Linked DNA regions of Homo sapiens: region 2 is linked to region 1. Evidence: promoter capture Hi-C in human tissues and cell types (Jung and others, 2019). All regions are on one chromosome and are shown on one strand. Each heading gives the region's core, a stretch centred on a gene start or on the middle of the fragment in contact. The rest is flanking DNA. Distances are from core to core; before and after follow the strand shown. Region 1 holds the start of WFDC2 (WAP four-disulfide core domain 2). Region 2 holds the start of SPINT4 (serine peptidase inhibitor, Kunitz type 4).

Evidence for each region. Contacts are between HindIII fragments. The study calls those that stand out against the background at their distance.
Region 2: the fragment with the promoter of SPINT4 here is called in contact with the fragment with the promoter of WFDC2 in region 1 in 2 of the 25 tissues and cell types used here (mesendoderm cells and small bowel).

What each region holds. Positions count from the first base shown.
Region 1 is chr20:45,468,243-45,473,289 of GRCh38, reverse strand. WFDC2 (WAP four-disulfide core domain 2) reads right to left here and starts at 3,537. Exons shown (of 4, transcript NM_006103.4): 1 at 3,430-3,537; 2 at 2,758-2,901. The coding sequence starts at 3,508. RefSeq lists silencers at 2,613-2,662, 2,683-2,872. The HindIII fragment of the contact is 12,073 bases long and covers 1-5,047 here.
Region 2 is chr20:45,719,399-45,724,017 of GRCh38, reverse strand. SPINT4 (serine peptidase inhibitor, Kunitz type 4) reads right to left here and starts at 1,671. Exons shown (of 3, transcript NM_178455.3): 1 at 1,536-1,671; 2 at 1-138. The coding sequence starts at 1,650. The HindIII fragment of the contact is 7,531 bases long and covers 1-4,619 here.

The DNA.
Region 1 (5,047 bases), core at 2,288-4,787:
AAACCTAGGCAATACCATTCAGGACATAGGCATGGGCAAAGACTTCATGACTAAAACACCAAAAGCAATGGCAACAAAAGCCAAAATTGACAAATGGGATCCAATTAAACTACAGAGCTTCTGCACAGCAAAAGAAACTATCATCAGAGTGAACAGGCAGCCTACAGAATGGGAGAAAATTTTTGCACTCTATCCATCTGACAAAGGGCTAATATACAGAATCTACAAGAACTCAAACAAATTTACGAGAAAAAAACCCCATTAGAACGTGGGCGAAGGATATGAACAGATGCTTCTCAAAAGAAGACATTTATGCAGCCAACAAACATGAAAAATGCTCATCATCACTGGTCATTAGAGAAATGCAAATCAAAACCACAATGAGATAACATCTCACACCAGTTAGAATGGAGATCCTTAAAAAGTCAGGAAACAACAGATGCTGGAGAGGATGTGGAGAAATAGGAATGCTTTTACACTGTTCGTGGGAGTGTAAATTAGTTCAACCATTGTGGAAGAGAGTGTGGCCATTCCTCAAGGATCTAGAACAAGAAATACCATTTGACCCAGCAATCCCATTACTGGGTATATACCCAAAGGATTATAAATCATTCTACAATAAAGACACATGCACACATAGGTTTATTGCAGCACTGTTCACAATAGCAAAGACTTGGAACCAACGCAAATGCCCAAGACACATGCACACATAGGTTTATTGCAGCACTGTTCACAATAGCAAAGACTTGGAACCAACCCAAATGCCCATCAGTGATGGACTGGATAAAGGAAATGTGGCACGTCTACACCATGGAATACTATGCAGCCATAACAAATGATGAGTTCATGTCCTTTGCAGAGACATGGATGAAGCTGGAAACCATCATTCTCAGCAAACTAACACAAGAACAGAAAACCAAATACCGCATGTTCTCACTCATAAGTAGGAGTTGAACAATGAGAACACATGGACACAGGGAGGGGAACATCACACACCAGGGCCTGTCGGGGGGTTGGGAATTAGGGGAGGCATAGCATTAGGAGAAACACCTAATGTAGATGACGGGTTGATGGGTGAAGCAAACCACCATGGCACATGTATACCTATGTAACAAACCTGCACGTTCTGCACGTGTACCCCAGAACTTAAAGCATAAATACAAAAAAAAATGTTGTTAAGTTGCCAACAGTCTTGACTTCCTAATACAAAGAAATTCATTCTCTTGAAAGGAGTAGGAACCTGTAATATTGGGCTGCCCTGGAAATAAATAGGGAACCATTTATGATCAAAACAAGCCACTGTGTATGGAGTATCTTCTCACTAATAGACACTTTAGATGCATTATTTCATTTAGTCCTCATGCCAATCCTATAGAGTTTGGAATTATTCCCATCTTAGAGCAGAGGCTCAGAGAGGTAAACAACATGCTCAGGATCACATAACTAGAAAATGGCAGAACTAGGATTCAAACCTCCAGGCTGCCTCCCTGGCTCAGGAGGCCATCTGACCTTGTCCCTCTTCCTGCCTCAGTCTGTCCATCTGAGATAAGGGAACAAATTCTTCATCCATCAAACAGCAAAGACTCCCTCCTTTGCTCCTCCACCTCTCTCATCTGGCTGCTGCCTGCTTTCTCTCCAAATCTTCCTCTCTCCTTCTGGTCCTCCTCTCCCTGGCCCAGAGGAGGGGACTCATGACCTTGAAGCTGCCCTTGGTGGGCTGCCAGTCCCCCTCCACTTACCACCTCCCTGCTGATCGGTGTCTTGGGTCACCGTATTACAAACCTTCCCAGCCTGTGCTGGCATCTTCAAGGAAATAACAGAGAGGAAAAGTCACAGGGGCTGTATTCTGGATAAAGAACATCATTACAGTACCTTGGTTCTCTCCAGGTCCTATCCCTGCCTCTAATCCTCAGCATTTTCCTCTGGAGAACGGAAAGCTGAGATTCCATGCTGTTTAAGCCACCCCCTGTTCTGATAGCCTGGTGGAGACTGCAGCTCCAGCAAGCACCTTTGAGAGAGTCCCCAGCTCGCGCTCACTCAATCCTTAGAGTGGAAGAGATTGACTGAAAGACGACGAAGGGCGATACAGTGTCCAGGGAGGATTCCTCACTTTCTTCGAATCACTCAGCCAGTTGGCCTGAAAGGCAAAAGCTGAACCCTCACTATGACTCCAGCAGCCATGGGATGGCGGTGTGACCTTGGGCAAGAACATTTTTTTCTCACCGATGCTCCCTTACACATCTTTAAGATGAGCGGGGCATTTTCCTAAATCTGTAAAGTTCCTTTCCGCCTGGACAGAGGAATTGGGGAAAATCTTGCCAGGCCAGGCTCTCCCAGTCTTTCCCCAGGGCTGGGGGAGGCCCCCAGGGAGGGACTCCAAGAGGAGAGGTGAGCGCCCCAGGCTCCGGGCTTTCCCGCAGGGCAGGCTTCGGCCGGTTCGAGAAGGAAACTGCGGCCCCGGGTCCCCAGGCCGCGGGGAACAATGTCCCGGCTGTGCGTGCCCGGAAGCCCGTCATGCACCAGAGACTCGAATCCCAGCTAGGGGTGGGGACCCCCCCTTGGCTGCGTTTCAACGACGCCTTTGTCTACCCCTGGGCCGTGCGAGGGAGAGGACTGACGGATCTGGTTTCAACCGCCTTGACTTTCCCGGGGGTCCCCGGGTCCGGGGGCGCCCCTGTTCCCGGAACCCGGGCCCTCCCACCTCCTCCCAGCCCAGCGCGGCCCCGCCCCGTTCCCGCTCGGCCGCCGTGGGGTTACCATTGGGCAGAGAGCAGAAGGTGGCACAGCCCGCGCTGCAGCACTTGAGGTTGTCGGCGCATTCGCTGTCCGAGACGCACTCTTGCGTGCAGTTCTGGTCAGCCTGGAGCTCGGGGCACACGCCAGTCTTCTCTGCTCCTGTGCCTGGGAGGGGAGGCCCGGGACAGTCGAGGGTGGGGCGTAGCGCCAGCCCCAGAGGATGCCCACCTCCTGCTCCAAACCTTAACCCCAAGGAATTCTCAGTCTCTGGCCCTAGGAGTCCCCTTACAGCCCCCAGAGACTCCTTCTTCCAGACCAGGAGTCCCTGACCCCTGGGAGTACGAGAGCTCCCTAACCCTTGGCGTCGGGGCCCTCAGATCTCAGCCCTAGGGGACGCCGCACAGCTGAGCGTCTCGGAGCTTCCGAGGTCGAGGCAGAGCAGCCCCCACCCCCAGCCCACTGCAGCCACGGAGTGTCCGCGTTCAGCACAGAATCCTCCCAAATTGCAGCCATCAGTGGTCTCTCCACCTCCAGCACATTGGACCCCACACCCTAGGCTCCAAGGGTCCCCGCCACTTCCGCCCCCGGAATTCCCACTTCCCCAGCCTCCAGAGGCTACGCCTCCGCCTGGCTCCATCCTGGCGCTCGTGGCTCGGCCCCTCTAGGCGCCGGGCCTCTCCCCGCCCCACTCACCTGAGACTAGGGTGAAGCCGAACAGCAGCAGGCTGAGGAGGAGGGCGGCGGCTAGCGGGCCTAGGCGACAAGCAGGCATGGTGCTATGCCCGGGCGGGGTGCAGGTGTGAGCCGATGCTCAGGTGCGGGGATTTAACCGCGCGCGCGGGAGGGGGCGTGGGGTAGGGGTGGAGCCGAGCGGGGAAGGGGAGGGTGGAGGGCTTTGCGGGCACCGCGGGCGGGCTGCCACATGAGGTCATTTCACAATCCCCCAGGATCAGGTATCACTCTTGGCCCCGGTGGGAACCAGGAACTTAAGCAGCTTCCAGGACGGGACCAGCTACGGCCGGACCCTTGTCCACGCCTCCCTCCTGACCTCCCTCCTGGGGCCTGAGGGCCAAGGCTCAGGGCTCCTGGGTTTCTATTCCAAGACTCCGAGGTTTCTCCAGAGTGTCCCCAGTGGGCGGTTGAGGAGGATAAGGCAGGGCCCGCAGGGAGGCAGTAGAGCATGCGGGTTAAAGGGTTCGATTTGGGGTCAGCCAGATGAGAGGGCAGATCCCTCTTGATGGAGGGCTAGGGTAGTGATACAGAGCACATAGTAGGGGCTACAGAAATAGCACTTATTATTAATAAACAAACCCTCCTCATCAGAAACAGGCCCAGGAAGGTGAAGCACCTAGCAGTCTCAAGCCGTTTGGGTGTGTGTTTCTGTCTCCCTCTCTTTGTCCTACCGGCCCCTGATCAGGGCTGACTGTGCCAGGCTCTGTGCTCCTTGTCTCAAGGAATTGTCGCCGGTCCTCTGACCGGGGAGTTACTGTTATCAGCTGTATATGACAAAGGAACTGAGTGTTTAGGGATTTAGGACCGCACCTCCACCACAAGGTCCCCTGCAAAGCTGTACAAATAAGGTTTTGAACCCAGGTCTCTCCCTCCAGGCCCTTGTTTTTTCCATTCCGTCGTAAATATTCACTGGGTGCCTACTGTGTGACATATGCAGGGCAAGACGCTTGGTGAAGAGAAAGTCGTCAAAAGGGGCCCTCCAGCACTGGTCTTGAAGGGGTGACAGGGTCTGGGGTCTGACTCCCACCTCCACCACTTCCCACCTGAGGGCCCTGGAATGAATCCTTTCCTGGATCTGAGCTGCCACATCATCAGTGAAAATGACACCTATATGGGACTTCAGTGAGAACACAAATGCAACGTTCCTGCCACGGAACAACCATGTACTCACTGGGAGCATTGAGAGTAGATCCACACTGATTGACACAGGGACTCCAGGCCTGACCCATGATAGGTACTGGATACATGGCCATGAGTGCTCCACAGATAAGTGTCTCCTGTGACGAAGGAGACCAATAAGTATAAATGAAGCTTTAGAATCCAGGGGGTTAAGTGCCAAAACAGAGTTACCCAGGGAGTTAGACAAGAAGTGCTTCCTGCTCCAATGATCTGAGGTTCTAGAAGCCCCAGGAGGTCTTTGCTGCTGGAGGCTAGAGGGGCCCTGGGGCAGTGAACACTGGGATGATAGTGACAGGTGAGTAGGGTTTGGTGATGTGAGTACATCTGGCCACTGTCCCCAAAATGGATGCTGAGAACACCTCCCCCAGCTTCTCATGCTCAACTTGGGGACTGGGGACGT
Region 2 (4,619 bases), core at 422-2,921, 250 kb before region 1:
TTTTAAGCTTGAAGTTGTTAAGGTTGCCATTACAGCCGGAGAAGACAAAAGTTTCACATCTTTTGGAGGTTCTGTTGTAGAAATATCTAAAGTGAACTTCATAGCAGCTTCCAAAATTCATGTCCAATTTGCAGGGATCTGCATGAGAGGTTCCCATTGAGTTAGTGGGAATTGGTAAGGACTCAGCAGGAGAACTTGTCTTTATGGGCCCTTAAAAATTCCTACGTTTAGCCTGGAACTATTCTCATATTCAAGGACTCTGAAAGATGTGGTTTTCTCTTGGAGTTAGAGTTGCTTGGAAATGTTGCCCTTGCACAATGCAAATTGGTTAAAATTCCAGGTTGTTGTCGTGAGCAGTGTATTGGAGAAGGAGAAGTAGTGATCAGTGAAAAAGGAGGTTCCACCACTAGCTTGTGCAGGGCGATGAGCTTCCCTACATTTCCTATCTTACAGTTTATTAAAGTACAGTATCCTCCTGCTTCCCCACATCATCTTCCTTTCCTTTTAATTGCCCACATAGGACATGCAATTCAGAGTGCCTCCTCCCCAGTTTCATACATTCACTATACTACCTATACTTCAAAATTTAAGTAACCATGGCTGCTGCTATCTTTAAAGCAGGATGCATACTAAAATGCTAAAATGCATAACCTTGGGGTGATGCTCGTTCATCCTCATACCCCGTCATCTTCTCCTTTCTTGCCTTCTCAGAGGCAAACCCTCTGTTTTTATTGTTAAGAGTTGGGTAGTAAGTGGTTGGAACAGCCACAATCATGGTTGTATTGACAATCCACCTTACTCAAGCAGCCAGCCTGGAATTTACTCTCTGGTAAAGTTATGTGCATAATCTTATTTCATACTCACAAACACCCTCTGCAGCAGGCACTTTTCTGATCTTCATTTTACACATGGGGAAACTGAGACTAAGAGAATAATAAGTGGTTGAGTGACTTGTCCAAGGGCACATATCTGCTAAGTGAACAGGTCCAGAACTTGAAGTGTCTGACTTACGGTATAAACTGTGCTACTTTCTCGTCCCCTGGAAGCGCTGAGCCTTCACACACTATCTATGGAAGAAAGTCTCATTGCCTCTCACATTTACATTGTGAGCTCCTCTAAACAGGAATCATCTGTCCAAGAGTTCTGTATATGTCCATAGCCCAGATACTGAAAATGTCTTAATTTGCTCTGTCTCCAACCCCCTTTCTCTCTCATCCCAATACATAATCATCAATGGTCTGGGATCTTTGAAATTTGTCACACAACCTCTGATTCAAAATACTTCCAGTCCTTTGGACCTCCTATAAAAGAGGTCTCCATCTGGAAAGGACTTTGTGTCATTTCTGTTTTTTCTCATCAAACATCCAGAGGACCCCTAGTGTAAGTAATGCCCTGAGTCAAGGGACTAAGTGTCTATGGGTATTGTCATGAAAGGAAGACCTTCCTGGACTACCTAGATAACACACTTTTCTCCCAATACCTTCTCTCTCATTCATAATTGACCTTTGGATTTATTTTCTGCCTTAGCTTCATACCTTTGAGGTCTCCACATATCTTCTCCGCAATTTTATTAACACCACCCAATAACAGGGTATTCAATGAGCAGAAGATGAAGAATCTTAGAAGAAATCCCAGCTTGGCAGACTTCATGGTGCAGCAAGCAGCAGGCAGGATAGTTGTGGTATCACCTGATGTTATATTTTGGGCTTGATACTTGAGACGGTTGAGCTCACCTACCCCAAGGGCCAGGACTGGACATTACTAGGTGTTGAGTTGAACAGTGAGTGCTTGGGTACCCAGCCATGAAGCTGAAGGCCCCAAACTGATTAGACCCTTGATAGTGAGTCCCATGTTCATCTAGAAGCAATAGAAACTTAAGGATCAGAGCTTCTGCATATATTTAATCATGAAGGGTAGAATCATCAGAGTGAGGAATTAAAAAGGGATTTCTTCCTTTCTCTTTTTGACCTTTTATGCACAGAAGAAACTAATCATGGCACAAGAGAAAGAGTGCAATAGCACTATAATAATAGTAACAGGGTTAGTTATAACCTAGAGTACTACTTAATTCCAGGTGCTATTTTTAAGTAATTTGTATATACTTTATCATCATATACACCCTATGAAGTAAGTACAGTTATTACCATCATTTAAGGATGAAATGGAGACAGAGATTAGGTTACATGTACAAGGTCACTCATTTATTATGTGGTAGAGACAAGATTTGAACTTGGCTTCAGAGTTTTTGTTCTTAGTCACACTACACTATGTTATCTAGGAACATGAGGACATCTTGGATCTGTTTTCTCCTAAAAGTTTTGAAGTTTTGGCTTACCTTTACACCCTAAAACCACCTGATGTTGATTTTTTGGTAAGGTATAACATAAGGATCCTTTTTCATTTTTCAGTGGTTCCAGACCTATTTATTAATGAGTTCCTCTTCTATTTAACTGCAAAATAATTTTGCTTAATTATGTGGGATTGCTTCTGAGCCCTTTATTTCACTCCACTGTATACCCCCACTCCAAAGCCACACTTAATCTCTTGAACTTTGTTTATCTTAGGATTTTGTATTTTCATATAAATTTTAGTCAGTTTATCAAGTTATTCAAAAGACCTGTTTCGGGCCAGGCGTGGTGGCTCATGCCTGTAATCCCAGCACTTTGGGAGGCTGAGGTGGGTGAATCCCATGAGGTCAGGAGTTGGAGACCAGCCTGGTCAACATGGCAAAACCCCGTCTCTACTAAAAATACAAAAATTAGCTGGTTATGGTGGTGAGTTCCTGTAATCTCAGCTACTTGGGAGGCTGCGGCATGAGAATTGCTTGAACTGGGAGGCAGAGGTTGTAGTGAGCTGAGACTGTGCCATTGCACTCCAGCCTGGGTGACAGAGCAAGACTCTGACCGAAAACGAAAACAAAAACAAAAACAAAAACAAAACACCTATTTTGGATATTCATTTGAATTGCACTGGATCTACAAATCAATTGGAAAAGAATGATATCCTTATAATATTGTCTTTGATATATATATTTCCATCTATTTTGACCTTCATTAATATTTTAAAGAAAGGTTTATGACATTTCTCATGCAGGTGTTACAATCTTATTTATATTTTTAATATTATTGTAAATGCTATCTTTTAAAAAAATCTTCAACTTTTATTTTAATTTCAGCGGTACATGTGCAGGATGTGCAGGTTTGTTACATACATAAACCATGTGTGCCATGGTGATTTGCTGCACAGATCATCCCTACACCTAGGTATTAAGCCCAGCATTCACCAGGTATTCTTCTTGATGTTCTCCCTCTCCCTACCACCCCCATGATATGCTCCAGTGTGTGTTGTTCCACTTATGTGTCCATGTGTTCTCATCATTCAGCTACCACTTGTAAGTGAGAACATGCAGTGTTTGGTTTTCTGCTCCTGTGTTAGTTTGCTGAGGATAACTGCTTCGAGCTCCATCCATATCCCTGCAAAGGACATGATCTCATTTCTTTTTATGGCTGCATAGAATTCCATGGTGTGTGTGTGTATATATATATATTTCAGTATCACATTTTCTTTATCCAGTCTATCATTGATGGGCATTTGGATTGATTCATGTCTTTGCTATTGTGAATAGTGCTGCAATGAACATATGCATGCATGTGTCTTTATAATAGAATGATTTATGTTCCTTTGGGTATATACCCAGTAATGGGATTATTGGGTCAGATGGTATTTCTGCCTCTAGATCTTTGAGGAATCTCCACACTGTTTTCCACAATAGTTGAACTAATTTACACGCCCACTAACAGTGTAAAAGTGTTCCTTTTTCTCTACAACCTCTCCAGCATCTGTGTTTTTTGTTTTTTTTTTTACTTTTTAATAATCACCATTCTGACTGGTATGAGATGGTATCTCATTGTGGTTTTGATTTTCGTTTCTCTAATGATCAGCGATGTTGAGCCTTGTTTCATATGTTTGTTGGCCACATATATGTCTTCTTTTGAGAAGTGCCTGTTCAAGTCCTTTGCCCACTTTTTAATGGGATTGTTTGTTTTTTTCTTATAAATTTGTTTAAGTTTCTTGTAGACTCTGGATACTAGAACTTTGTCAGACGGATAGATTGCAAAAATATACTCCATTTCTGTAGGTTGTCTGTTCACTCTGATGATAGTTTCTTTTGCTGTGCAGAAGCTCTTTAGTTTAATTAGATCCCATTTGTCAATTTTTGCTTTTGTTGCAATTGCTTTGGTGTTTTCATCATGAAATCTTTGCCCATGCCTACGTCCTGAATGGTATTGCCTAGATTTTCTTCTAGGGGTTTTGTAGTTTTGGGTTTTACATTTAAGTCTTTAATCCATCTTGAGTTAATTCTTGTATGTGGTATAAGGAAGGAGTCCAGTTTCAATTTTCTGCATGTGGCTAGCCACTTTTTTCAGCACCATTTATTAAATAGGGAATCCTTTTCTCATTGCTTGTTTTTGTCAGGTTTGCTGAATATCAGATGGTTGTAGATGTGCAGCCTTATTTCTTAGTTCCCTCTATTCAGTTCCATTTTTCTATGTGTCTGTTCTTGTACCAGTACCATGCTGCTTTGGTTATTGTAGCGTTGTAGTATAGTTTGAAGTTGG